Linked DNA regions of Homo sapiens: region 2 is linked to region 1. Evidence: promoter capture Hi-C in 16 types of primary human blood cells and fetal thymus (Javierre and others, 2016). All regions are on one chromosome and are shown on one strand. The core of a region is centred on a gene start or on the middle of the fragment in contact, and the rest is flanking DNA. Distances in the headings are between cores, read along the strand shown.

Region 1 (2,852 bases), core at 38-2,537:
AGGGCTGGTTGTAGGGCTGCATTCACTAAGGCTCCATGGGTCTAAGGCCAACTCCGAGGATGGAGGTCAGCACAGCTGGCGTCCCCTGGGGCTGGAGGGCTGTGAGCCACCGGCACCCAGCTGGCTGCTTTCACGGGGAAGTTCGCTTGGTAAAAGCTCACTGTGTTTTTGCTTTTGTTCTTGCATAAACATCAGTTCAACACAAAATTTTCACAGAAAGAAAAACGCCTCCCTGACAATGCGACTGTCCACTTGACACCAGGGCCCCGCGCTGCCCATGGAATAGGGCCAGAGTCCTCCACTGGCGTTAAGGTTGCCGCCTGCCCGCTTCTCCCCCAGGTCCTCCAGGCGGACCCGCAGCCTGCAAGCCAGAGCCCCCGACTGACAGGACTCGTGGCCCGACCCCTGTGTCCCCCTCATCTTGCATCCCGCTCCCCCCGGCGGCCCCTCCCCTCCACGGCCCCTTCCTGCCTGCGGACCCTCCCCCACGCCCTCCTCCCCTGGCGTCTCCCCTCCCCCCATCTCCTCGGTATCCCCCTTCCCCCCCAAGCCTTGACCCCCCACATCCCCCACCTTGCCCCCCTCCTCTGGCGTCCCCTTCCTCCCTGCAGCCCCCCACCACCTCCGGCGTCCCCTCTTTCCCCACCCTCCCGCAGCCCCTCACTCCCCCGCTCCCTCCCCACCGCTTCTCCAGTGTCCCCCTCTCCCCACGGGCCCCTCATCACGCCCGCGGCCCCCACTCCCCGGTGGCCCCTCCTCCGAATACCCCTACCTCCGCGGCCTCTCACCCCCCCATGCCCCCCCCGCTCCATGCGCCGTTTCTCCCCCTCGGCCCCCCACGCGCCCCCGCGGCCCCTCCACCCCAGGTCCCCCTCCCCTCAGAGTTCCCCTGCTCCTCGCGGCCTCTCCCCTGGCATCCCCCTCCCCCTGCCCCCTCCCCCTTCTCCACGCGCCCTCTCTCCTCCGCAGCCCCCCACGTGCCCCCATGGCCCTCCCACCCAAGTCCCCCATCCCCCGGAGTTCCCTGACCCCCTTGCCGCTCCCCTCCCCTCTCCAGCCTGCGTTCGGGAAGCCCTGACCTTTGCCGAGGCAGGCGTCGCAGTACACGTGCCCGCAGTTGGTGAGGCTGAAGCACGACGTCCTGTGGGGCGGCTGGAAGCAGCGATTACAGAACACCCAGTTGGCCATGCCAGGCGGGCGACCGCAGCGGCGAGGCCGGGCCCACGCGAAGCCCACGCAAGGTTGGGACCAGCCTCCCCGCGCAGGGCCCGAAGGCGGGCAGCTCTGCGCCTGCGCAAAGTCGACGGCAGCCCTGCGCCCGCGCACTGGAGCTCGCGCCCTCCCGCCAACCTCGCGGGTTCTCCCGCAGCACCTGGGAGGGCGCGTGTGACTCGTCTCCCAGGTCGTTTGGGCTGGAGTAGGCGGAGGAACGCACCGCGAGCACCAACGTCCCGCCCCTGTCTTGGCGGTCCTCAGGTGTTTTGTGGAAGCCGGGCCTGGGTGGCGGGCGCGGGGAATGGCGGCTGCGCTGAGGAGGCGTCGCGGCGCGACAGCAGTGGGGGAGGGGGAGGGGGAGCGCCGAGGGCGGGGGATGCGGGCCAGGCCCACCTTGAGGGCCGGGAGCTGGGCCGGAGGCCAGGGCGGCCAGGGTAGTGCGCTGGGCGAGGCAGGGGAGGAGTAGGGGAGAGTGGGCGTGGGGGCCCTGGGGGCCCGGGGAGCGGGATAGGAGGGAGGGAGGGATAAGTGGGTGTGGGAGTTGGGGTGGGAGCGGGAGTGGGGATGTGGGAGTTGGGGTGGGTGTGGGGGCGTGAGGCGGTGGGGGTGGGGTGTGATGAGGCGGTGGGGGTGGGGGGGGCAGTTGGGGGTGGGGGCCAGGCCGCGCTGCACGCTTTGGGACTAGTGTCCAGGTGGCCGCTGGCGCAGAGACCTCAGCACGGGAGGCCTGAGCCTGCTTCCCTCTGAAACGGAAGGCGTAGCTCGGGAAGGACCTCTGCTGCTTCCAGGTTCCAGCATGGGGAAGTGACTTTTTATAAAATTGTCCTCTGCGTGGTTTTGAGAGTTTCCACCCGCTGGGACGCTGCAAAGCTCGGATCGAGAGGCTCAGGCAAGTGCTTGTGCCGGGAGAGCGCAGGGTGAGCGCTCCCGGTAGCTACGGGCCAAGTGACCCCTGCGCCCCGAAAGATGTGAGTAAAATACAGCTGTTTCCAGGGCCTCGTATGAAAACCTTCTTAGTAATTTTATATTGATTACATGTTAACATGATATTTTTGATATATTAGGTTAAATATATATCAGTAGCGTTGATTTTACCCTTTCAAAAAATCCTTTTCAATGTGGAGACTAGAAAACTTAGAATTACGTATGGGCTGGGTGCGGTAGCTCACGCCTGTAATCCCAGCTACTCCGGAGGCTGAGGCAGGAGAATCGCTTGAACGAGGCGGAGGTTGCAGTGAGCCGAAATCACACCACTGCACTCCAGCCTGGGCAACAGAGTGAGACTTCGTCTCAACAACAACAACAGCAAATTAGAATTATGTATGTAGCCCACTTTTATTTCTGTTAGACAGTGCTGATCTCTACCAAGTTTAAAATAGCAAGACCAGCAACGTGGCAAAACCCCGTCTCTACAAAAAATACAAAAATTAGCTGGGTGTGGTGGTGGGCCCCTGGGGTCCCAGCTACTCGGGAGGCTGAGGTGGGAGGATTGCTTGGGCCCTGGAGATCGAGCCTGTGGTGAGCCTGACGGCACCTGTGCAGCAGAGCGAGACTCAGTCTCAAAAATAAGTTTAAGAATAGGATGAGGTGCCTAATCTATCAAATTCAGAAGCTGCATTATAAAAGCATTCTCTCAA
Region 2 (2,700 bases), core at 94-2,593, 530 kb after region 1:
CAGCAAAAACAAACTAAGTCAGTCCTTTTCTTGGTACCAGGAGCTGCTCAAAGCTTTTGGTTTTTCAATTTTCACCCAGGAGGCACAGAGAAAACAGCTCAGCAGGTGCAGCAGAGGCCCCCCCATGGAGGACAAGCCTTGCGCTCTCGTGACTGAGGCCGCGGAAGGCACCATCTGCTCACTAAACCCAAGACCTCCAAAAACGCAGCGGGCCTGAAGGTGTGAACACGGCCACATGCACCTCTAGCTTGTCCTTAGGTTCTAGCCCATGATGTAACTGCTGGCCCCAAAGCTGCCTGCCTGTCTGAAGAACTCCTCAGGCTCTGGGTGACCCAGCTGCAGGGCCACATAGGAAGCTGTTTCTTTCTCTGCAGCAGCCTCGGTCTCTCCAGAGGCAGCTGAGCGCCTTCTCTACGTGGCAAAAGCTTTTCAAAGCCCTAAAAGCACACGCTTTTATAGAAACCAGCAGCTGCTTCCACACTCTGCTGGAACCATAACTGATGTGCATATTTTCAATGGTCATATTTTAATTTCAACTTTGAAACATAGCTTTGCCAATAAAAACAGAAAAAGTAGCTTCGCCAGTAAAAGCCGGGCATGGTGGCTTATGCCTGTAATCCCAGCACTTTGGGAGGCTGAGGTGGGTGGATTTCCTGAGGTCTAGAGTTCGAGACCAGCATGGCCAACATAGTGAAACCCCCTCTCTACTAAAAATACAAAAAATTAGCCAGGCATGGTGGCAGGCACCTGTAATCCCAGCTACTCAGGAGACTGAGGCAGAGAATCGCTTGAACCTGGGAGGCAGAGGTTGCAGTTAGCCGAGATGGCACCATTGCACTCCAGCCCGGGTGACAGAGCGAGACTCCATCTCGGGAAAAAAAAAAAAAAAGCAGAAAATCCTAAATGTTTTCCTAGGAAAACATGCACTGTTTCCAAGGGAAAGGCAGGGAAGGCAGTGCCCCTGCACCCTGCTCAGAGAGCAGCCCTCTGACACCTGGGGAAGCTGGTGTGAGCCTAGACTCAGAGCAGACAGCAGGGGGTGGCGGGGGGTTGAGGATGATCGCCGAACGGTCCCACTGATAAGCCCCGACATAGGAGCCCTGCAGGGTGAACACAGTTGCGCACGCAGACTGCACAACACACGCCAGGGACGCCGGACTAGAGCTGGGCTGCGCATACCGAGTCCGCCAGGTGCAAGCACAGCACAGCCGGGGTGCGGATGTGAGCGAGCGTGAGCATGCAGCGGTGCACATGAGTGGGAGTGTGCACATGAGTGGGAGTGTGCACCTGAGTGTGCACATAAGCGTGGGGGTGAGTGTGCATGGTGGGTATGTGTGTGTGCCCACCCAGAGTCAGGACTAATTGTCCGGTAACACACAATTATAAAAGTTGTAGAGGAAAATCAGAGCATTTCTTTTTGGCCCTGAGGTGGAGAGGAGCTTGACACAAACAGGAAGTGGCAAAGCCTGGGCCTGGTGGCGCACGCCTGCAATCCCAGCACTTTGGGAGGTGAGGCAGGAAGATGGCTTGAGCCCAGGAATTTGAGACCAACTTGGACAACATAGTAAGGCTCTGTCTCTTAAAAAATTGAGAATATTAGCTGGGCACAGGAGTGTGCACCTGTGGTCCCAGCTACTTAGGAGGCTGAGGTGGGAGGATCACCTGGGTCCAGGAGATGGAGACTGCAGTGAGCTGTGATTATACCACTACACTCCAGCCAGGGCAACAGAGAGAGAGACCCTGTCTCCAAAAAACAAAACAAAACCAGGAACTGACAGGTAACCCAGGCTGGGGGCCAAGTGTTCACCAAAGGTGCCACATATTCAGGTGATGCGGTGCAGGCAGGGGTAGGTGGGTGTGGGTGAAGACTGGTTGGCTGACAGGGAGAGGGGCACACAGACGGCAGATGAGGGACACAGAGAAAGGTGGGAGCCAGTTTTTGGGTGGGATGAGCAAAGAGCTGGAAAGAGGGAGAGCAGGCAGCCCTGGCCCCTCAGGAGTCTTGGCACTGTCCTCTGCAGCCGCGGTCAGGAGGGCTCTGGGTTTGCAGACGTGGCCCCTGAAGACACTGCCTGTCTCCTCAGGGGCTTTCCTGACATTTGATGAGGCCCTCTCCCCACAAACCTTTTTACCAGAAAGCGATGACTACGGTCACACTGAAGACACTCGTGAGCAAGCAGACCAAAGCGGCTGAATTTAAGGCAATGCACACTTCAGGGCGGGCAGGTATTACCTGGCCCCCACATGAAGCAAATAAACGAAAAGCTTTTATTTCAGGTGAGGTTGAGTCCCAGGAGCAGAATGGGGTGTGCAGCACCCACATCACTGTTCTGGCTCATTAACAAAGTCACTGAAGAAAACGGGGCAAGCCGGGAGTGGTGGCTCACGCCTGTAATCCCAGCACTTTGTGAGGCCAAGGCAGGCGGATTACCTGAGGCCAAGAGTTCAAGACCAGCCTGGCCAATATGGTGAAACCCCATCTCTACTAAAAATACAAAAATTAGCCAGGTGTGGTGGTGGGCGCCTACAATCCCAGACACTTGGGAAGCTGACGCAGGAGAATCTCTGGAATCTGGGAGGCAGAGGTTGCACTGAGCTGAGATCATGCCACTGCAGTCCAGCGTGGGCAACAAGAGCAAAACAGAAAGGGAAAGGGAAGAGGAAGGGGAAGGGGAAGGGGAAAGGGAAGGGGAAAGGGAA

Evidence for each region. Contacts are between HindIII fragments. The CHiCAGO score rates a contact against its expected background, and 5 or more counts as called.
Region 2: a fragment that was not itself captured here is called in contact with the fragment with the promoter of RNF212 in region 1 in 1 of 17 cell types (erythroblasts); the score reaches 5.5 in erythroblasts.

The regions. Positions count from the first base shown.
Region 1 is chr4:1,112,277-1,115,128 of GRCh38, forward strand. It overlaps RNF212 (ring finger protein 212), which reads right to left and starts at 1,288. Exons shown (of 10, transcript NM_001131034.4): 1 at 1,080-1,288. The coding sequence starts at 1,188. It overlaps LOC124900647 (nascent polypeptide-associated complex subunit alpha, muscle-specific form-like), which reads left to right and starts at 1,363. Exons shown (of 3, transcript XM_047416477.1): 1 at 1,363-1,476. It overlaps LOC105374344 (a long non-coding RNA gene), which reads left to right and starts at 1,363. Exons shown (of 3, transcript NR_134676.1): 1 at 1,363-1,476. The HindIII fragment of the contact is 6,439 bases long and covers 1-2,852 here.
Region 2 is chr4:1,646,464-1,649,163 of GRCh38, forward strand. All of the region lies in intron 4 of FAM53A (family with sequence similarity 53 member A), which reads right to left. Among named protein-coding and RNA genes, the nearest start is that of FAM53A, 36 kb to the right of the region's middle. RefSeq lists an enhancer at 755-1,256. The HindIII fragment of the contact is 1,840 bases long and covers 424-2,263 here.